Linked DNA regions of Homo sapiens: all the other regions are linked to region 1. Evidence: promoter capture Hi-C in 16 types of primary human blood cells and fetal thymus (Javierre and others, 2016). All regions are on one chromosome and are shown on one strand. The core of a region is centred on a gene start or on the middle of the fragment in contact, and the rest is flanking DNA. Distances in the headings are between cores, read along the strand shown. Region 1 holds the start of H1-4 (H1.4 linker histone, cluster member). Region 2 holds the start of H2AC15 (H2A clustered histone 15). Region 3 has its middle 3.7 kb from the start of H2BC14. Region 4 has its middle 4.0 kb from the start of TRQ-TTG3-3. Region 5 has its middle 14 kb from the start of TRV-AAC1-5. Region 6 has its middle 5.5 kb from the start of TRD-GTC2-6. Region 7 holds the start of TRI-AAT5-2 (tRNA-Ile (anticodon AAT) 5-2).

Region 1 (3,084 bases), core at 404-2,903:
TTCAGAAAAAATTCTTTTTTTTTTTTTTTTTGAGACGGAGTCTTGCTCTTTCGCCTAGGCCTGACTGCAGTGGCACTATCTAGGCTCACTGCAAGCTCCGCCTCCCGGGTTCACGCCATTCTCCTGCCTCAGTCTCCCGAGTAGCTGGGACTGCAGGCGCCCGCCACCGCACCCGGCTAATTTTTTGTACTTTTAGTAGATACAGGGTTTCACCGTGTTAGCCAGGATGGTCTTGATCTCCTGACCTCGTGATCCGCCCGTCTCGGCCTCCCAAAGTGCTGGGATTACAGGCGTGAGCCACCGCGCCCGGACCAGAAATAATTCTTTTGGTTGGGCTTTCATTGCCAGCTTACATACACTCTTCTTGATTGGGCAACTACCTAAAGAAATTCACTCAGACATTGTTCAAAGGATGTTTTCAGAGGGCAATGATTTATAATAGCTTAGATAGACTCTCAAAGCTCTACTTCTGAGATCGAAATTTGAACTTGTCGTTTAATCACTACATGTCACTTATTTTTCTTTCTATTGAGCTCTGGGAAGCATTGGAATACAATCTTCAGGGGGATTGAAACCATACGTGGTGAGTGGACTAGTCATTCCTCAACTATTCAGTAATAATAGGGGCTGGGTTTCACTAATAATGGGAGTAGATGTTTCAATCTACGTTTCTTATTTATTTTGCCTTATCATCAATGCTTGAATTTCAGCTCTAAGCTACTTTATTGCAATTTGGTTCTGAAGCATATGCCAAAAGCACTCAGCAAGGCTGCAGACAAATGCTTTAAAGTAAAGTGCACCTCCACTTCCAGTGACTTTATGAACATCACATTTGAAAATTAATCCTTTTTCATCTCTGTACCCTGAGTACATTTTGGACTTCCCTTCGTTCCCAAATACCCTGAATTCAAGGTATCTCAATCCATGGAGCAATTGTCCAGAGGAAGAGAGAAGCAACAGCCCCGCCCCCAACCCTTGGGAGCAGAAAGGGAAAGAATTATCCAAAGAATTGTTTAAAAACTCAGATGTAGCGGACAGATGTAAAACCATGGCTGTATAGATTGATGTCCCAGGGGTCCAAAACTTAATCTCAAATGGGCAATAATTTGTTTGGCATTAAACTAAACCAGTTTGATGAACTCAAATGCCCTCGGCTCAATAGGCAGGACTCTCCGAGGAGCCTGTGTTACTTCCCTCACTTAAGTGCAGATTTGTAATAAAAATCTTAATGCCAGTGGCATGCTTTTTGGATATATAAGAAGCTAACCACTTGGAGTATCATATTTGAGAGGTCAGAAAAGTCCACAGTTAAAGATCGGTTTATAATTTACGAAGAAAATAGAAAGTTTTGTTTCTCTGAGTTGAAATTTGCCAAGCACGGCGGGAAATATTGCAAGTTTTTGGCACAAGGCTTTGTGCTTCCCTTATAATTTGAGATCTGCGTGAAGCCTGAGGGTTCGGGGATCATTATCTGAGAAAAACCGGGCAGTTCGGTGTAGACAATTTTTATATTTTTGGCTTTTTTTGAGGTGTAACAAACACAACTCGGGATCCGAGAGGACACTCTGCGGCTGCCAGCGAGGCGGGCTGGACAGCGCACCAATCACGGCGCAGCTCCGCCCTATATAAACGGGCGGGCGCAGCGCCGCGGCTCGAGTCCCGGCCAGTGCCTCTGCTTCCGGCTCGAATTGCTCTCGCTCACGCTTGCCTTCAACATGTCCGAGACTGCGCCTGCCGCGCCCGCTGCTCCGGCCCCTGCCGAGAAGACTCCCGTGAAGAAGAAGGCCCGCAAGTCTGCAGGTGCGGCCAAGCGCAAAGCGTCTGGGCCCCCGGTGTCCGAGCTCATTACTAAAGCTGTTGCCGCCTCCAAGGAGCGCAGCGGCGTATCTTTGGCCGCTCTCAAGAAAGCGCTGGCAGCCGCTGGCTATGACGTGGAGAAGAACAACAGCCGCATCAAGCTGGGTCTCAAGAGCCTGGTGAGCAAGGGCACCCTGGTGCAGACCAAGGGCACCGGCGCGTCGGGTTCCTTCAAACTCAACAAGAAGGCGGCCTCTGGGGAAGCCAAGCCTAAGGCTAAAAAGGCAGGCGCGGCCAAGGCCAAGAAGCCAGCAGGAGCGGCGAAGAAGCCCAAGAAGGCGACGGGGGCGGCCACCCCCAAGAAGAGCGCCAAGAAGACCCCAAAGAAGGCGAAGAAGCCGGCTGCAGCTGCTGGAGCCAAAAAAGCGAAAAGCCCGAAAAAGGCGAAAGCAGCCAAGCCAAAAAAGGCGCCCAAGAGCCCAGCGAAGGCCAAAGCAGTTAAACCCAAGGCGGCTAAACCAAAGACCGCCAAGCCCAAGGCAGCCAAGCCAAAGAAGGCGGCAGCCAAGAAAAAGTAGAAAGTTCCTTTGGCCAACTGCTTAGAAGCCCAACACAACCCAAAGGCTCTTTTCAGAGCCACCCACCGCTCTCAGTAAAAGAGCTGTTGCACTATTAGGGGGCGTGGCTCGGGAAAACGCTGCTAAGCAGGGGCGGGTCTCCCGGGAACAAAGTCGGGGAGAGGAGTGGGATTTTGTGTGTCTCCGGAGCTATTTTTGACTAAGGCGTCGCGTCGCCCAAGCCGGAGTGCAGTGGCGTCATCTCGATTTTGCGTTCTCGAGTGTCGGAGTTGAACCCATTTGGGCCTCCCTTGTGCTTTGCACTTTTAGCAGGCCCTGGCCTCCAGATAGCATGGGAAAAAAAATGTTGGGATTTTCCCGGGTTTCTAAGCTGGGTTTTTCCGAGTTCCAAACACGGCACAGTGTATCAGTTTCTGTGCTGGTTACAAGCCTACTGGTTATCCCTATCGAGTATGGCAGGCAGTGAGGGACTTCAGAGGAGTACGTCTTAGGACAAGTGGCATAGTACTGACATTATTTCCGAAGGGCTACATTTCAAGTGCTTGGGGAGACTACTGCCACATAACTGAAAATTAGAAACCGACACTGCAGAAAAATACTTGGTCCTTAAATGTGGCATTTGGATGGATTAAGGACTTGCCGAAACGTAAAACTGACAGACTTGGGGGGGGGGGATGTCCCAATTAGCACGGCTTCTGTATGCAACGAG
Region 2 (3,084 bases), core at 297-2,796, 1.7 Mb after region 1:
GACTGCAGTGGTGCAATCATAGCTCATTGCAGCCTCGAACTCCTGGGCTCAAGTGATCCTTCTGGTCTCAGCCTCCCGAGTAGCTAGGACTACAGGCTATGAGACGCCAGGCACGGTTAGTTATTTTACTTTTGTAAAGATCAGGCTGGCTTCGAACTCCAAGGCTCTAGCGGTCCTTCCGCCTCGGCTTCCCAAAGCGGTTCTGTTTACCGGATGGTGCCAAACAGTTCCAGGCTCTTGGTGCCCGGTAGAAATTGGACGACACACACACAGATAGCAAAGCAAAGCAGCAAAAGTTTAGTAAACAGAGTATTACACTCTCGGGGGTGGGAGAGAGCGGACTGACCTCTGCGAGGTGAGATCAGCGTCAGCTTGCTGTAGTTTGAGTCATTTTATGTGTGTGCGTGCGTGTGTGTATGTTTTCTGTTCCCAGTGCTGCCTAATCTATAGCCAGCATCTGCCCTTTTATTGATAGGTTTGTTGCTTACTTTGTCCTCTGTGGCTTGTGCCTCTATCTTATAATCTTAAATATATGCATGATATGTAGCCCATATGCATGAACCTTAAGTAGCTGATTATCATACGGGCTTTTGTTAAGGATACTTTTCCTCTCTAATACGCATGCCCATCTCTGAAGAGCTGCCTCTTAAACTGGTTTGTTCCAGATCTTGCCGGCCACGAGGTCCTTGCTCACATTATCTCTTTTGTTTCGGCTGCAAAAGGTTCACTGCTTGTTATCTCGCTTCTTGTTCACCCGCCCATCTACCTTACTTCTGCCCTTTGCTTTTACTTATTCTGCCCTCTAACTTTCAGCTCCCTTTGTTATTCTCTTGCCTCACTTTTCTTATTGTTTCAGCTGTATTGCAGGCGCGAGCTGCCGCGCCTAAATTTCTTGATGTACCGTAAACATTTCAATGTCTACTTTCTATCTCAAAACAATGTGGTGTAAAAGCCGTTTAGTTTTGCTTCATCTCCATACAGCATTCCAGTGCCATTGCAAAATGACTCGACTATCAGATAAAACTGAACACAGCTCTACTTGGTGAAAAAGTAGGTGGCTCTGAAAAGAACCTTTTTGGTTTGGACCGAGGTATGAGTAATGAACTGCTCCAGCCCCGCTACTTGCCCTTGGCCTTGTGGTGGCTCTCAGTTTTCTTAGGCAGCAGCACGGCCTGGATATTGGGCAGGACACCACCCTGGGCGATGGTCACTTTACCAAGCAGCTTGTTGAGCTCCTCGTCGTTGCGGATGGCCAGCTGCAAGTGGCGCGGGATGATGCGGGTCTTCTTGTTGTCGCGGGCCGCGTTGCCAGCCAGTTCCAGGATCTCGGCGGTTAGGTACTCCAACACCGCCGCCAGGTACACCGGCGCTCCGGCACCGACCCGCTCAGCGTAGTTGCCCTTGCGGAGCAGTCGGTGCACTCGGCCCACTGGGAACTGAAGACCCGCCCTTGAAGAACGGGTCTTAGCCTTGGCGCGAGCTTTGCCGCCCTGCTTGCCACGTCCCGACATGACGTAAAAAATTCAATCAGTAACGTTCCTGAGACTGACGTAACGCTAAAGCTCCGCTACTTATAGTCAACAGAGGCACGAAAACTAAGCTGTGCTATTGGCTAACATTACAGTTTCGCTTTAACCAATGGGATTGCGGTTTTGAAAAACACTTATTTTGATTGGACAAAGTTAATATACGTTTCCAGGACTCACCACTGGTTAAACGCACAACTTCATTCTCTACCCCACTTGCGTTAAGAAGCAGTGAATAAGCGGTAGGTTGACAGAGCTACCGTCTTCCTGTTTTTTTCCTCCAATTTTCCGGCAGTTACTCCCAGTCATGCCCGAGCCCTCAAAGTCCGCTCCTGCCCCGAAGAAAGGCTCCAAGAAGGCAGTGACAAAGGCCCAGAAGAAGGACGGCAAGAAGCGCAAGCGCAGCCGCAAGGAGAGCTACTCCGTGTACGTGTACAAGGTGCTGAAGCAGGTCCACCCCGACACCGGTATCTCGTCCAAGGCCATGGGCATCATGAACTCCTTCGTCAATGACATCTTCGAGCGCATCGCCGGCGAGGCTTCCCGCCTGGCGCATTACAACAAGCGCTCGACCATCACCTCCAGGGAGATCCAGACGGCCGTGCGCCTGCTGCTGCCAGGGGAGCTGGCCAAGCACGCGGTGTCGGAGGGCACCAAGGCCGTCACCAAGTACACCAGTTCCAAGTGAGCCCGCCCACCGCGGAACGTTCGGTCAGTCTCGGCCCACACCCCAAAGGCTCTTTTCAGAGCCACTCAGTCTTCCCAAAGAGAACTGGCACTCACTGTTCTTACAGCAGGTATTTCTTACTTGCTACAAAGACGATTTCCAAGATTCCTTTAGCCTTGTTAGAAACTAATTTTGGCTCAAGCCTCTAATCCCGGTTCGGGAAACCGAAGCGGGTGGCTCACCTGAGGTTAGAAGTTCGAGACGAGCCTAGCCAACATGGTGAAACCCGTCTCTACTAAAAGTACAAAAAAATAGCTGGGCGTGGTGGCGGACGCCTGTAATCCCAGCTACCCGGGAAGCTGAGGCAGGAGAATCGCTTGAACCCGGCAGATGGAGGTTGCAGTGAGCCGAGATCGGGCCATTGCACCCCAGCCTGGGCAGTAAGAGCGAAACTCTGTCTCAAAAAAGAAAGAAAAAGAAAAGAAATTAATTAGCACTGCAGTGTACTGCATGTTGCAGCAACGCTTGAGACAATTTTATATCTGAAGAAGGATGAGGTTTATCATCAGACAAACCTAGTAAAGGGAAAATTCAGTTCCTGTTGACCCCAAAGAAAATATAATACTTAAGTGTCACTGGTAAAATATCCACAGTGCTTCCGGCGCTCTGTCCCTAAACTTCATGTGTACTTTAGTAATGAAGCAGTTGGCACACACACAAACGTACAAATCGACTTGTTTGTTTTGAGAGTGGTGCTGTTTCTCCTCCCTTGTCCCCAGTTTGGATTTGCTAAATATTAAGATAGAAAGGCAGTAGAAAAAAGTTTGAACCCAGTTTACAGCACCGTACACGTCAATCGGGCTGAGTTGATGTCAATGGCCAATCCCGACA
Region 3 (3,084 bases), core at 322-2,821, 1.7 Mb after region 1:
TGACAGACTTCAGTCTTCTTGCGATATGAGTTTTCAGTTAATGAAAACTCAGAGAAGAGACCAGAGGTAATTGTTTTCTTCTTTGGCAGGTCTATACTTTAGAGAGATAAGGGAATTTCAGAGAACAACTTCATTCTCTGCTTTCAGATAGAGAAATGAGAGAGAGGAATAGGGGGAAGGTCCGAAAGACCTTGAGTACTCTTCTTCAGTTCAGTATGTCAAAGCTCCATATTTTGGGGAATCGGTTTCTGAGCCCGAACAATACAATCTCATTAGATGAAGCATCTATTCTTGATACAGGAGTATCATGTTAGAAACAAATTAAAGCTCAAAAGATTTTTTTAAAAAATTAGGCTGAGTGCGGTGGCTCATGCCTGTAATCCCAGAAATTTGGGAGGCCAAGGCAGGCAGATTACTTGAGGTGAGAAGTTTGAGACTATCCTGGCTAACATGGTGAAACCTCATCTCTACAAAAATACAAAGATTACCAGGGTGTGGTGGTATGCGCCTGTAATCCCAGCTTCTTGGGAGGCTGAGGCAGGAGAATTGCTTGAATCCAGGAGGCAGAGGTTGCAGTGCGCTGAGATCACACCACCGCACTCCAGCCTGGTGACAGAGCAAGACTACATCTAAAAGAAAAAAAAAAATTAGGAAAATACTATCCAGAAATCTTGGCAAAATTGTTTATGATTATTATTTTTGAGACAAGGTCTCACTCTGTTGCCCAGGCTGGAGTGCAGTGGCACAATCATGGCTCACTGCACCTTGGCTTCCCCAAGCTCAAACAATCCTCCCACCTCAGCCTCCTGGGTTGCTGGGACTACAGGCACAGGCCACCACCCTGGGCTAATCTTTGTATCTTTTTTGGTGGAGACAGTGTTTCACCATGTTGCCTAGGCTGTTCTCAAACTTCTGTGCTCAAGTGATCCTCCTGCCTTGGCCTTCCAAAATGTTGGAATTACAGGTGTGAGCCACTGTGCCCTGCCCCTATTTTTAATTTTTAATAGAACAAAACAGAATTTTGGGGTCGACACAATCTTTATATGTATGTACAGTCATTTTAGAAGAGATAAAATTCACATTTTGGTCACAGAATACTTAGCAAAACAATATTTAAAAGTTCTTTATTGAGTTGTTTTACCCATACACTAATTGATTTTACTTTCCCCATGCACTTGGAGAACTCTAACCCACTGTTATAGCCTATTGTGTAAGCCAATATTGGAGGTGTTGATGACTATATCTTGTTTTTACAAGTCATGTGGAGTGCAGACTGGGTTTCATTTTTTTTCCCCCTATAGTGCCTAGGTCAATGGTGACCCTACAAAATAAGGTGAATATAATGTGTCAATGTAATATAATGTACATCTTTATGAAGGAAATAAAAAAAATGGATATAAAAACAAAAAAAAAGCTTTAATTAATTAATTAATTAATTTTTGAGACAAAGTCTTGCTGTGTTGCCCAGGCTGGAGTGCAGTGGTATGATCTTGGCTCACTGCAACCTCCGCCTCCTGGGTTCAAGCAATTCTCTTGCCTCAGCTTCCCGAGTAGCTGAGATTACAGGTGCCTGCCACCATACCCAGCTAATTTTTTTTGTATTTTTAGTAGAGACAGGGTTTCACCATGTTGACCAGCCTGGTTTCAAACTCCTGACCTCAAGTGATCTGCCTGCCTCGACTTCCCAAACTGCTAGGATTACAGGCGTGAGCCACTGCACCTGGCCAAGAAGCTTAAATTTAAATGAGACAGAAATAGCACAGAGGCATTTGGGCTTTTGGGAAAAAAGTAGAGGCCGTTCAATGCAATGGGTACATTCAAGCTATGACTTGGAGGTTCATGGTCATGGTTGGGTGGATTCTACCTAGGAGTGCTATGTTTGTTAGTAACTTCACACTTAAATCCAAATGTCACAGCTGATTATTATTAAGCAAGGGTTAAATTCTTTGAAAAGAAAAAAAAATCTAGTTTTCTGTCTTTAGGCTTGTGAGTACTGTGAAGTGTCTCAAAAAGACTAATTCCTACAAGAAATGGTTATGGGCTTGGATTTATTGTGAGACAATAAAAGAGTAACATTCGAATAAGTTTTGAGTCTCACATTTTGAATAAAGGCAGGCACACTAGGCAAGGGGTAAGGGCCGATACTTAGGGTCTCCTTTTAGGGGAAGGATTCTCTGTCTCTTTTTTTTTTTTTTTTTTTTTTGAGATGGAATCTTGCTCTGTCAACCAGACTGGAGTGCAGTGGCATGATTTCGGCTCATTGCAAGCTCCACCTCCCGAGTTCACGCCATTCTCCTTCCTCAGCCTCCCGAGTAGCTGGGACTACAGGGGCCCGCCACCATGCCCGGCTAATTTTTTGTGTTTTTAGTAGAGATGGGGTTTCACCGTGTTAGTCAGGATGGTCTCAATCTCCTGACCTCGTGATCCACCCGCCTCGGCCTCCCAAAGTACTGGGATTACAGGCGTGAGCCACCGCGCCCAGCCAGGATTCTCTTTTTGGGTAGAGATTAGCTGTTTTTGAGTGAAGGGTGGCAAGACACACCACCCCAAAATATGCCACATTGACATAAAGAATATTTGAGTTGAGGGCAACTAAGAAGAAGCAGATACAAGAAAACTCTCTGCCCTCTCCCTATTTGCCTAAAAGCAGGACATAAATGTACGGAGGTGTCTCTCCTCCCCTCTCTACCAGAAAGGGCAAAAATTAATCACCAGAGACAACATCAGACTCTCATCAGCCTGGAGAGGGCACCAGAGCAATCTGCATAACAACTTTACTAACCAGCCTTTATCTACCATTAATTTCGTATATATTTGCCTTCCCACAATTTGTCACTCCTAAAAACTCAAAATCCTTTTCCTTTGTCTTCTAATTTCTCTAAAAACTTATTGATCTTATTAAAGATGCTGTATATAAACTGGAGTTTTAAGTCACATTTTTTAGTTACTCATTTCTGGGTACACTCACATGAGACATGTGCTGTACCCATGTTAATAAACTTGTTTGTTTTTCTCTTCTTAATCTGTCTTTTGTCACAAGGGCTCTAGCTGAGAACTCAGAAGTGTAGAGGGAAAATATTTTTT
Region 4 (3,084 bases), core at 202-2,701, 1.6 Mb after region 1:
TCTGGTACTTTGCACTCATAGTTCCTTCTGCCCCAAACAGCTTCCCCCAGGTAGCAATATACTCTCTCACCAGTTTATGCCAATGACAGTTCAATGAGACCTCATTTGTATGCCCTCCTTAAAAATGCAATCTCCAGCTCCCTATCCCCTTTCCTGCTGTATTTTTATCTAAACCACTTATCAAGGTGATGACATGTTATGGAATTTAATCCCACCTCAAAGTACCATAAGAACAGGAATTTTAGCAGGCTATTTTCAGCGTGTATTCTCAATGCTAATATATTGTCTCTCATATATTAAGTGCTCAATAAATGTTTTTTTGGTTAAGTAAGTTAATTTCCTTTAAGCTGGCTGATGGGGTCATATAGAGGTAAAATTACTGGCTCTGAGTGATTTTCCTCACTTATAAATATAATTTGCAGTAATTTCTATATTATTCTTTTCCTCTTAATGCATGGTGATAATTATTTCCCTGTTACATATGTCTTTTTTGTTTGTTTGTTTGTTTGTTTGAGACAGAGCCTCGCTCTGTTTCCCAGGCTGGAGTTCAGTGGCGCAGTCTTGGCTCACTGCAACCTCTGCCTCCCGGGTTCAAGTGATTCTCCTGCCTTAGCCTTCTGAGTAGCTGGGATTACAGGCATGTGCCACCATGCCCAGCTAATTTTTGTAATTTTAGTAGAGACGAGGTTTCACCATGTTGGCCAGGCTGGTCCTGAACTCCTGACCTCAAGTGATCTGCCCACCTCGGCCTCCCAAAGTACTGGGATTACGGGCATGAGCCACCATGCCTGTCCTACATATATCTTATTCATTGTCTTATTCAATCATACAACTTCCTGATAAAATGAGGCTGATTTTCACCCCTATTTTGCTGTTAAGGAAACTGGTATAATGAGTGTCACTGACTTGTTTGTGATCACACAGTGGACAAAATGGCATTTGTTTCTTTGTGGTGATCTCACAAAGGTCAAGATGACCTTAGATCCTCAGTTTTGGCTGTTTTTTTTTTGTTGTTTTTTTGTTTGTTTGTTTGTTTTACACCAAGGAACCAGGTTCTAGCTCCTATGTTTGTTCATTGCATGGAAAGGAACAGGAAGATCTGGGGGCCACTGAATGGAAGGTTAGATCCATTTTCTTGGTTAAGCTTGTAGGTTTTCTCGTCTCTTTTCCTTCCTGCAGCACAATTCTTATGAATGGCAATATCTTCTATTAAAATTCTCAGTCTGTAGTCTTCTTGTCCATACAGAAAATAGATTTCAGGTCAACACATTTGATAGTCTGGACTGTGCTAACTGCTCCAATATTTGAGTACATCTTTTGGGGATGTGGGAATTTAGTGTTGTAGGCCTCAAGTGGGGTTCGTTCCCAGAATTTGGAGAGGCTATAGAAATATAACCTGGTTGGCCAGGCACGGTGACTCATGCCTGTAACCCCATCAATGTGGGAGGCCGAGGCAGGTGGATCACCTGAGGTCAGGAGTTCGGGACCAGCCTGGCCAACATGGAGAAACCCTGTCTCTACTAAAAACTTTTAAAAAATTAGGCGGGCGTGGTGGTACGTGCCTGTAATCCCAGCTACTTGGGAGGCTGAAGTAGGAGAATCCCTTGAACCCGGGAGGTGGAGGTTGCAGTGAGCTGAGATCACACCATTGCACTCCAGGGCAACAGAGTGAGACTCCATCTCAAAAAAAAAAAAAAAAGAAAAAGAAATATAACCTGGCCATAATATAAGCATAAATAAAATAGATGACATTCTTTCAAAGCTTTTCTTAGCCTCTTATGTTTCTCAGATATTAAATAATCGGGCCAGGCACAGTGGCTCACGCCTGTAATCCTAGCACTTTGGGAGGCCGAGGCGGGCAGATTAACTGAGGTCAGGAGTTCAAGACCAGCCTGGCCAACATGGTGAAACTCCATCTCTACTAAAAACACAAAAAATTAGCCAGGTGCAGTGGCACGCGCCTGTAATCCCAGCTACTCGGGAGGCTGAGGCAGGAGAATCGCTTGAACCTGGGAGGTGGAGGTTGTGGTGAGCAGAGATCGTGCCACTGCACTCCAGCCTGGGCGACAGAACGAGACTTCATCTCAAATAAAAATTTAAAAAAAAAATAGTCAAATGCAAAATAAAGTAACATTCCAGCAATTTAATGACAGATATTGAAGCCACCTTTGCAAAATTATGACTGAGACAGAGAAAGAGATGGAATTTAACCAACTCCGTCTTGCTTCTAACCTCCAAGCCATCCTTGTTCATTCCTGGGTGTAGGCTGAACTAATTTAGGGAGAAACTTAGTTTGTAGTTTATAGTTTAAACAAAGATGGTAACAGCCCTTTCCCAAAGCAGACCTCCTTCTTGCCTTGGGACTGGATTGCCTTTGTAGGACTAACATTAGCCACAAGATTAAAAATTATGGCAGCTGGAGGCTACAAGATTCTAACCCTCCCTAACTGCTCCTAAGATCAGTGCTTGAGATATTTTGCAGACGCTGCACTCAAGATGGGTCAGATAGCACCACCCAGATCTATTAACTGGCTCATCTGATCCTGTAGCCCCCACCCAGGAACTGACTCAGCACAAGAAGAGAGCTTCAACTCCCTATGATTTAATCTCTGACCATTCAGCACTCCTGGCTCACTGGCTTCCCCCCATCCACCAAGTTATCCTTAAAAACTCTGCTCCCCAAATGCCCAGGGAAACTGATTTGAGTAATAAAACTCCAGTCTCCTGCACAGCCAGCTCTGTGTGAATTACTCTTTCTCTATTGCAATTCCCCTGTCTTGATGAATCAGCTCTGTCTAGGCAGCGGGCAAGGTTAACCCCTTGGGTGGTTACAATATGTACATGGGAAAGTGGTTGGCCTGCTTGGAATTGGAACAAAGGCAAACTAAGCATGATGATTATCAATGAGTTGCAGCCCAAAACCAACCAAGGAAGGACTATTAGTTCATGCTAGATTGCCTGTGTGGCTGTTTAAGACAGGATTCCACCAACAGTAAGAGAGACAAGTTTTAATCCCATTCAAAATTATGAAACTATTCCTTAGTAACCAGGCTGTTTCATTTACTTTGATTTGTTACTTACTAA
Region 5 (3,084 bases), core at 310-2,809, 1.6 Mb after region 1:
GGGTCAAATTTGACAAATTTAATCTGACAATTAAATACAAAAGGCTAACTTGGGAGGGGGCAATCCAAGGGCTGGTAGTGGGGCAGCCTCCAAGTGCCCCCACTCCACAGACTGTGGATCTGACTGACGCAGCAGGGGGTTCCTAAATAAGAGATTGATGGCCTCCCCCCATCTGATACATGCTATCAGAACCAATCAGAGGGAGGCCCTTGCAGTTCACAGAATCAACAGGTGCCAACCATGCAGGAGGAGTACTGGGAAAGGGAAGTCTATAGACAAGTGGAAACATTGGCACCCCCTTTAGCCTCTCTGGGAGAGTCATCTTCCCTGGCCCTAACACAAGTTCTCTGTACCCACACCTTTTTAAACTGAAACAGGTGTGGAACCAAGGTCTCCACTGGCCTCAGCCTGGCCCTCTGACCCTGCCCTGAGACTGGAGGCATTATGTACCTGTTAGAGTGGACATGGAGGCAGATTTTAATTTACATGGAACTGCTAGACACTGAGGCCCAAGCCACTGTAGTTCCTGGCCCTGAAGAATGGCATGAATTCCAGGTGGATTCTGGAATTTTGTAGGGTGGAGAATTAAGGAAATGCTAGGTAGGGAGGTGCTTTCTCACTTATGAGTGTGGCCATTTAGCAGCTATGACAGGCTGGTGGTTGGGTTTCCATTGGCTGAGCGTATTATAGGGATTGACCTAATGCAGTGCACAACTTCATGGTGCTTACTGGGCTATGCCCCAACTAAAAGAAACATTTTAGCCATCACAGTAAGGTAAGTCCAGAGGCAAGCACCACCATGTCACCCCAAACCTTAGAAGAGGGTACAATAAAGACAATATAATATCCCTGAGGGAAAGAAGGACATCACACTCCTCATCCAATATTCAGTTCAAGCAGAAGTGTGCGGGCAACCGGTTCCACTTTTAACAGTCTGGTTTAGCCTGTTAAGAAAGCCAGTGGAGCCTGGAGTCTGACAATTAACTATTGAGAGCTAAATGCTGTAGTAGACCTATTGACACTCGTGGCCCAGATATCACCACAGTAATTGAACACATCATGGAGGCTTCCAACCAATGGTATGATGCAGTTATTGATCTGGCTAATGGATTCTTCTCAATCCCTTTGAGGGATAAGGGCAGAGATCAATTTGTATTCACATGGCAAAGTATACAATATACATTTACAGTGCTGCCACAGGAGTATTTGAACTCACCTGCCATATGCCACCAGTGGGTAGGATGGGATTTCGCCACTGTGCTTTTGCCTAAAGTGGTCATGTGCATTCATTACATAGGTGACATCCTTATTGTGGCCCTTGATGATCCGATCACACAAGAGGCCTTGGACTTGATGGTCACAGGGACGTGACAAGCAGACTGGGAAGTTAACCCTAACAGTCCTGGGATCAGCCAAACTGGTGACCTTTTTAGGATCTACCTGGGCTAGAGCTCAGTACTAGATTCCAGATCTGCCCATCAAAATCTGTTACCATTAACTGGCCGACTATGAAAAAGGAGGCCCAACACCTGACTGGTGGACTTTTTGGGTATTGGAAACAACACATACCTTACCTGTTCATTCTGTTGGCTTCACTCCACCAGATACCTAGGAAAGCTGCTACTTTGCATTGAGGGCCCAGGGAGGATGAGGCACTCTAGGTTTTACAACAAGCCATTAGGCAGGCCATGGCCCTGGGGCAGTTAGAGCACACCTCTCCATTTGAATGACAAGTCTCTGTGTTAGGAAATGATGCAGACTGCAGCCTTTGGCAAAAAGAAGAGGCCACTGGGGTTTAAAGGCCTTTAGGGTTCTGGATTAACCACTCCCTACACCCCTTTTGAAAAGCAGTTTTTAGCTTATTGGACCTTAGTGGAAACTGAAAGGCTGACCCAGTACACTAAGGTTGTACTCCAACCACAAGTCCCCATCTTGTCCTGGGTTAACAGGCAGCCTAGATATTAGAACGGGGTTAGCCTAGCAAAGAGGCATCATCAGATGGAAGTAGTATATTCAAGACTGAGCCTGATTAGGAGAAGAGGTAGTAAGCAAGCTACAAGTAAAAATGGCCAGCTCTCTGGCAGGTGGAATGGTGCCTACACCACCTAGGAATCCCCATAGCCAAATGGGGACCATGATTACAGGATGCAGACTCTGACATCTTCTGCTAGTTCACAGATAGCTCAGCAAAGCTGAAGCCTTGAGGGGTAAAATGGGCTGCAGCCACTGTCAACATGAAAACAGGGGACATTATCACTGACAGTGGAGGAGGTCACAGTGCCCAATGGGCTGAGTTACTCACAGTTTGGCTGGCAGTGTTCTGGGGATGGGGAGTGAGGCACCAATCTGTCACTTTGTTCTTTCTGTGGAGCATGGCAGCAGAGGCCTGGAAGCATAATGCCTTTGTTAGCCTTTCTCAAGCTGTGCCCGCTGTGGGAAACCTGGTGAAAAGTTGGATTGCCATCCTGGACCTCAATCTGTGAACAACCAGAGTGACTCCATGTCCTGCCAGTGGTCAAGTATGCCAGCATTTCTAATGGCACAGTGTACACTAACAGAACTCCAACCCTGGCTTACCATGTGAGGATCTGATACCCATCACATTGGAGGGAGCTGAAGGTGCCCTGTTTTAGTTTAATTGGTTTAAGGTGGCAAAATATCACAACCACAAATAACAAAGCCATAGAGAGCTGGTATTTGGATGCACCACACTCCTTTCATTACTTGGATGAGAAGTGCCCTGCCAGTGATCCAGTTCCTCCCCTCTCCTTGTCTGTAGTTCTCAGAATACTGTAGGATGTGCTGGAAATGCAATATACTGAGATAGGGAAGAACTGTCCTGGACAGTGCTTACTTTGTTCCTGTCTCCTTTACAAGGATGTCCTTCAAACCTTTGCCCAGTGCATTCCATTGCTACTCAGGTATATAACCCACAGTGGGCTACCTTTCAGGGATTCTAGCTGCAGTATAGTGGGGAATGTACAGTTGAGACTCCATCCTCCCCAGAAACTTTCTTAAGCCTTGGGGGACTAGCTTGTTATGAATCTTAGTCTTCTGTTGTCTCTTTCTGCCTATCTGTAAGTA
Region 6 (3,084 bases), core at 195-2,694, 1.3 Mb after region 1:
ACAATATGCCACAACTGACACCAAAAGCAATAGGAAATCTTTATTGCCCTATACTTATTGGAAAAATTAAATCCATAATTTAAAGAGCCACTCATATACACTTCCAGGCGTAGGTAGATTCACTTGTGAATTCCCACATACAAGTAAGAGATAAATAATATCAGTCTTTCAGAAAGCTATTCAGAGAACTGAAAAAGAGAAAACATTGTTCAGCTAATTTAACTACACAGACATAATTCTGATACCAAAACCCAGAAAGAGAGTACAAGAACAGAATATTACAAGCCAATATTTCTTTTAAACATAGACTCAAAACTTTTTACCAAAATATTAGCAAAGTAAATAAAGCATATTATTTTAAAAGTCAAAACATTATATTCAAATCAGATTTACTCTAGAAATGGAAATTTGGTTTAACTTTTTTTTTTTTTAAATTTATTTTTTTATTGATAATTCTTGGGTGTTTCTCACAGAGGGGGATTTGGCAGGGTCATGGGACAATAGTGGAGGGAAGGTCAGCAGATAAACAAGTGAACAAAGGTCTCTGGTTTTCCTAGGCAGAGGACCCTGCGGCCTTCCGCAGTGTTTGTGTCCCTGATTACTTGAGATTAGGGATTGGTGATGACTCTTAACGAGCATGCTGCCTTCAAGCATCTGTTTAACAAAGCACATCTTGCACCGCCCTTAATCCATTTAATCCTGAGTGGACACAGCACATGTTTCAGAGAGCACAGGGTTGAGGGTAAGGTCACAGATCAACAAGATCCCAAGGCAGAGGAATTTTTCTTAGTGCAGAACAAAATGAAAAGTCTCCCATGTCTACTTCTTTCTACACAGACACGGCAACCATCCGATTTCTCAATCTTTTCCCCACCTTTCCCGCCTTTCTATTCCACAAAGCCGCCATTGTCATCCTGGCCCGTTCTCAATGAGCTGTTGGGCACACCTCCCAGACGGGGTGGTGGCCGGGCAGAGGGGCTACTCACTTCCCAGTAGGGGCGGCCGGGCAGAGGCGCCCCTCACCTCCCGGACGGGGCGGCTGGCCGGGCAGGGGGGCTGACCCCCCCCACCTCCCTCCCGGAGGGGGCGGCTGGCCGGGCGGGGGGCTGACCCCCCCCACCTCCCTCCCGGACGGGGCGGCTGGCCGGGCAGAGGGGCTCCTCACTTCCCAGTAGGGGCGGCCGGGCAGAGGTGCCCCTCACCTCCCGGACGGGGCGGCTGGCCGGGCAGGGGGACTGACCCCCGCCACCTCCCTCCCGGACGGGGCGGCTGGCTGGGCGGGGGGCTGACCCCCCCACCTCCCTCCCGGACGGGGCGGCTGGCCGGGCGGGGGCTGACACCCCCACCTCCCTCCCGGACGGGGCGGCTGGCCGGGCGGGGGGCCGACCCCCCCACCTCCCTCCCGGACGGGGCGGCTGGCCGGGCAGAGGGGCTCCTCACTTCCCAGTAGGAGCGGCCGGGCAGAGGCGCCCCTCACCTCCCAGACGGGGCGGCTGGCCGGGCGGAGGGCTGACCCCCCCACCTCCCTCCCGGACAGGGCGGCTGGCCGGGCGGAGGGCTGACCCCCCCACCTCCCTCCCGGACGGGGCGGCTGGCCGGGCAGAGGGGCTCCTCACTTCCCAGTAGGGGCGGCCGGGCAGAGGCGCCCCTCACCTCCCAGACGGGGCGGCTGGCTGGGCGGAGGGCTGACCCCCCCACCTCCCTCCCGGACGGGGCGGCTGGCCGGGTGGGGGGGCTGACCCCCCCATCTCCCTCCCAGACGGGGTGGCTGGCCGGGCTGAGGGGCTCCTCACTTCCCAGTAGGGGCGGCCGGGCCGAGGCGCCCCTCACCTCCCGGACGGGGCGGCTGGCCGGGCGGGGGGCTGACCCCCCACCTCCCTCCCGGATGGGGCGGCTGGACGGGCGGGGGGCTGACCCCCCCCCACCTCCCTCCCGGACGGGGTGGCTGCCGGGCGGAGACGCTCCTCACTTCCCAGATGGGGTGGCTGCCGGGCGGAGGGGCTCCTCACTTTTCAGACGGGGTGGTTGCCAGGCAGAGGGTCTCCTCACTTCTCAGACGGGGCGGCCGGGCAGAGACGCTCCTCACCTCCCAGACGGGGTCTCGGCCGGGCAGAGGCGCTCCTCACATCCCAGATGGGGCGGCGGGGCAGAGGCGCTCCCCACATCTCAGACGATGGGCGGCCGGGCAGAGACGCTCCTCACTTCCTAGATGTGATGGCGGCTGGGAAGAGGCGCTCCTCACTTCCTAGATGGGATGGCGGCCGGGCGGAGACGTTCCTCACTTTCCAGACTGGGCAGCCAGGCAGAGGGGCTCCTCACATCCCAGACGATGGGCGGCCAGGCAGAGACACTCCTCACTTCCCAGACGGGGTGGCGGCCGGGCAGAGGCTGCAATCTCGGCACTTTGGGAGGCCAAGGCAGGCGGCTGGGAGGTGTAGGTTGTAGTGAGCCGAGATCACGCCACTGCACTCCAGCCTGGGCACCATTGAGCACTGAGTGAACGAGACTCCGTCTGCAATCCCGGCACCTTGGGAGGCCGAGGTTGGCGGATCACTCGCGGTTAGGGGCTGGAGACCGGCCCGGCCAACACAGCGAAACCCCGTCTCCACCAAAACCAGTCAGGCGTGGCGGCGCGTGCCTGCAATTGCAGGCATTCGGCAGACTGAGGCAGGAGAATCAGGCAGGGAGGTTGCAGTGAGCCGAGATGGCAGCAGTACAGTCCAGCTTCGGCTCCGCATGAGAGGGAGACCGTGGGGTGAGGGAGAGGGAGAGGGAGAGGGAGAGGGGTTTAACTTTTTAAAATGTAATTTGCCACATTAATAGAATAAATATAAAAACCAAATTTTCATCTTAGTAGACATAGACTAAGCATTTGATAAAATTCAATAATTCATGATTAAAAACTCTCAAAATGAGAATAAAGGGGAATTTCTTTAGTCTAATAAATCTTAACTACAAAACACCTACGATGAACCTGAGTTTGGGAACATGACAAGAATGCCCACGATTATCACTTCTATTCAATACTATGGTGGCAATAGTAGCTACTGCAGTAAAATAAGAAAAATAAATGATTGATATTAA
Region 7 (3,084 bases), core at 195-2,694, 1.0 Mb after region 1:
CCCATGTTTTAAAATAAGAGAAGGGTAAAAATATGTTGGGAGGATGAAGAGTGAAGGAAGAAATGTAAATGAGACACGTGCCAGGCACACGGGGACCCAGTGACCAGACTCCAAGAAAGCGCAGGACAGGGCTGGGCGCGGTGGCTCACGCCTGTAATCCCAGCACTTTGGGAGGCCGAGGCGGGCGGATCACGAGGTCAGGAGATCGAGACCATCCCGGCTAAAACGGTGAAACCCCGTCTCTACTAAAAATACAAAAAATTAGCCGGGCGTAGTGGCGGGCGCCTGTAGTCCCAGCTACTTGGGAGGCTGAGGCAGGAGAATGGCGTGAACCCGGGAGGCGGAGCTTGCAGTGAGCCGAGATTGCGCCACTGCACTCCAGCCTGGGCGACAGAGCGAGACTCCGTCTCAAAAAAAAAAAAAAAAAAGAAAAAGAAAAAAAGAAAAAAAAAAAGAAAGCGCAGGACAGAAAGAGCGAGGTGCTAAGACTTAGAGTGGACCCAGAGGCTCTGGCCCTCCTGTCTCCCACCACGCACTCCATTTTTGTCACATTTCAAACCTATCGCTTTTACGATATATGTTCAAAAATTGTTTAATGAACTGTAAATGGCTTGGTAAGGGCCGCATCGTAAATGGCTTGGTATGGGCCACATCGAGAACAGCTGTCAAATATAAGCCTAAGGCTAACCACGGATCTATTTTAACACTGAGCAGTTGTGGCTGAGTGTCTGGAGCTTGGCAGAAAGCAACGTCACAAGTCTGGCTTTTTCCCACGTAGACTGAACCCTCGCCCTCAAAGCTACAAACACAACAATTTAACCAACTGAGTGATCAACTAGGAGAAGAATCAATATGATCTCTTTCAAAAGCTTAAAATATGTCAAAATAGTATTATCTCAGAAAGTTTTTTTTTCCCAAAATAATACAAGACATTATCGAATTCTTATTTAACCCTTTTCTAAAATCACCCACCCACCTCATTGAATTTCCTTTAAAAAATCTTCATCCTGGCCGGGCGCGATGGCTCATGCCTGTAATCTCAGCACTTTGGGAGGCCAAGGCAGGCGGATCACCTGAGGTCAGGAGTTCAAGACTAGCCTGGCCAACATGGTGAAACTCCGTCTCTACTGAAAATACAAAAATTACCCAGGCATCGTGGCACACGCCTGTAATCCCAGCTACTTGGGAGGCTGAGGCAGAAGAATTGCTTAAACCTGGGAGGCGGAGGTTGCAGCGAGCCAAGATCGCGCCGCTGCACTCCAGCCTGGGCGTCAGAGCAAGACTCTGTCTCAAAAACAAACAAAACAAACAAATAAGAAAAACCTTTTCATCCTAACTCGTATATTATTTCTTCAAAAGAATAAAAAACGTGCAAATCTAATGCTTGTCTAGCTATTGCGACCACATTTACAAATGGATAGGCAGCGCTCCGGAGTTGGATGTAAGACGGTAGTATACAATCCAGGTGTGGTCGATTTAAGAAAAAAAAAAAAGAAAAAAGAAAAAAATTCCTGTCTAGCTAGTGCAACTACATTTATAAATGGATAGGCGAGGCTACGGAGTTCGATGTAAAACCGAAGTTTACAAGCGAGGTGTGGTCGGTGTAAAATAAAAACGAAAAAGAAGAAAAAAAAAAAAAACAAACCCACGGAAGTGGCCCGTACGGGGATCGAACCCGCGACCTTGGCGTTATTAGCACCACGCTCTAACCAACTGAGCTAACCGGCCTCCTTGGTGGGAGGGTCTTTTCTTATGTTTATTTAAATCATACCTGATCCATGCCCGCTGAATTTTTTTTTTTTTGTAATAGAAGCGTTACTTTCCCTTTTATTAATAAAATATATTTTTTTTTAAGAAAAGGAGAATTCCTCACTGTAGGCACAGGAAAACCATGCTGTTTCAGGGAAAACAATCTCAAACCACTGATTCTGACTGGAGAAAACTCAGATTCAACGACCCCAAGCAGGGCTTCCTTCCCCTCACCAGGTGAAGGACTCAGAACAAACCAAAAAGCAGCTCCAAGCTTGCGATCGCGGCCAGTTCCTCACGGAACCAACCGCAGAGCCGCCGCAGGTTCGCAGGATCGGAGGGTTCGGAGGACTCGGAGGGTGCGGATTCCTCTCTGCTCCTTGAGACCATTCCAGCCAGGTGGGCTCTTAGGCCTGGGAACCTGGGAAAGTGCACTGTCTCGCCTCCTGGCCTCGCGGTGGTTCCGCAGTCACCAGGACCCGAAATTCACAGCTGTGCGTCCTAAGCTTGCAGCTCCACAAACGATAAAATCAGACTTGGCCCTGCAGTGCCGGGCACCGGGCCCTTGGTGATGCTCGAGTGCCGGGCTGGCATCGGCGTAAATGAAAGGACCAGCGGGACGGCTCCTTTCAAGAGTCTCTGACTCCTTCCGTCCCGGGAAGACCAAGACACCCACATCTAAGACAAGGGAAGTCACCATTATCTACACCAATGATAAACGCCGGTATCTGGGAGGAACTGAGCCCAGGACCGGGTCAGGCAACTCAGAGTGTTGGGACAACTAAGTCCCTCTTCAAAGACTCAACTTTCTTGTCATAAGTTGCAAAAGTTGTACGTCAATCCTGCCTGCCCCCCGCCCCCCACCACACACATACACTCCTTTTTTTCGCAAATCCAGGGTTTACCCTATTTGCCAAAGTTTAAGTCTTAGCCAATCGGGATCAGCTTAGATTGTGCGGTCCAACCCCAGCCAATAGGGGAAGGACACAGAAACAGGAACTGCGTTAGGATTAAAAACTCCTTACCTCCTTTGTTTGGTGTGCTCTTGCAATTGTAACAGGCAAGGAGCACCCTTCTGCAGAAGTAAAGATGCCTTGCTGAGGAATTTTCTAAGTGAGGGTTTCTTTTGGCTACACCAAGCACTTGTTTCCAGTAAATCTTAGGGACTCGTCCGGGATCCCATTCTCCTTCGGGAGGGGCTAGCGATTATCTTTCATGGGGAGACGCGTCCCATTGCCTCGTGGTGGCCCCAGGAGCGGAGGATCGAGTCCCGCCCGAAGTGACGAATAAATCCGGACTCTCAGCAACGCGGACAGTAGGGAGGATCCTTAAGAA

Evidence for each region. The method cuts DNA at HindIII sites, captures the fragments that hold promoters and counts their contacts. A CHiCAGO score of 5 or more calls a contact.
Region 2: the fragment with the promoter of H2AC15 here is called in contact with the fragment with the promoter of H1-4 in region 1 in 5 of 17 cell types (monocytes, erythroblasts, M0 macrophages and 2 more); the score reaches 11.4 in monocytes.
Region 3: a fragment that was not itself captured here is called in contact with the fragment with the promoter of H1-4 in region 1 in 1 of 17 cell types (fetal thymus); the score reaches 6.1 in fetal thymus.
Region 4: a fragment that was not itself captured here is called in contact with the fragment with the promoter of H1-4 in region 1 in 2 of 17 cell types (total B cells and neutrophils); the score reaches 6.1 in total B cells.
Region 5: a fragment that was not itself captured here is called in contact with the fragment with the promoter of H1-4 in region 1 in 1 of 17 cell types (neutrophils); the score reaches 5.7 in neutrophils.
Region 6: a fragment that was not itself captured here is called in contact with the fragment with the promoter of H1-4 in region 1 in 1 of 17 cell types (neutrophils); the score reaches 5.1 in neutrophils.
Region 7: a contact is called between a fragment that was not itself captured here and the fragment with the promoter of H1-4 in region 1, in 2 of 17 cell types (naive B cells and monocytes). The highest score is 5.2, in naive B cells.

What each region holds. Positions count from the first base shown.
Region 1 is chr6:26,154,676-26,157,759 of GRCh38, forward strand. H1-4 (H1.4 linker histone, cluster member) reads left to right here and starts at 1,654. Exons shown (of 1, transcript NM_005321.3): 1 at 1,654-2,440. The coding sequence starts at 1,716. The coding sequence ends at 2,375. RefSeq lists enhancers at 1,382-2,133, 1,658-1,817, 2,078-2,157, 2,887-3,084 and a silencer at 2,448-2,497. The HindIII fragment of the contact is 19,818 bases long and covers 1-3,084 here.
Region 2 is chr6:27,836,829-27,839,912 of GRCh38, forward strand. H2AC15 (H2A clustered histone 15) reads right to left here and starts at 1,547. Exons shown (of 1, transcript NM_003510.3): 1 at 1,052-1,547. The coding sequence starts at 1,511. The coding sequence ends at 1,119. H2BC15 (H2B clustered histone 15) reads left to right here and starts at 1,741. Exons shown (of 1, transcript NM_003520.4): 1 at 1,741-2,282. The coding sequence starts at 1,834. The coding sequence ends at 2,214. RefSeq lists enhancers at 1-614, 703-792, 863-912, 1,183-1,292, 1,363-1,452 and 3 more. The HindIII fragment of the contact is 16,643 bases long and covers 1-3,084 here.
Region 3 is chr6:27,817,148-27,820,231 of GRCh38, forward strand. No RefSeq gene overlaps it. Among named protein-coding and RNA genes, the nearest start is that of H2BC14, 3.7 kb to the left of the region's middle. The HindIII fragment of the contact is 318 bases long and covers 1,413-1,730 here.
Region 4 is chr6:27,798,379-27,801,462 of GRCh38, forward strand. No RefSeq gene overlaps it. Among named protein-coding and RNA genes, the nearest start is that of TRQ-TTG3-3, 4.0 kb to the left of the region's middle. The HindIII fragment of the contact is 618 bases long and covers 1,143-1,760 here.
Region 5 is chr6:27,766,363-27,769,446 of GRCh38, forward strand. No RefSeq gene overlaps it. Among named protein-coding and RNA genes, the nearest start is that of TRV-AAC1-5, 14 kb to the left of the region's middle. The HindIII fragment of the contact is 3,636 bases long and covers 1-3,084 here.
Region 6 is chr6:27,483,676-27,486,759 of GRCh38, forward strand. No RefSeq gene overlaps it. Among named protein-coding and RNA genes, the nearest start is that of TRD-GTC2-6, 5.5 kb to the left of the region's middle. The HindIII fragment of the contact is 4,863 bases long and covers 1-3,084 here.
Region 7 is chr6:27,175,561-27,178,644 of GRCh38, forward strand. TRI-AAT5-2 (tRNA-Ile (anticodon AAT) 5-2) reads right to left here and starts at 1,728; the gene lies at 1,655-1,728. RefSeq lists a cis regulatory region at 1,567-2,644, a silencer at 1,634-1,783 and enhancers at 1,986-2,185, 2,376-2,475, 2,826-2,885. The HindIII fragment of the contact is 1,154 bases long and covers 868-2,021 here.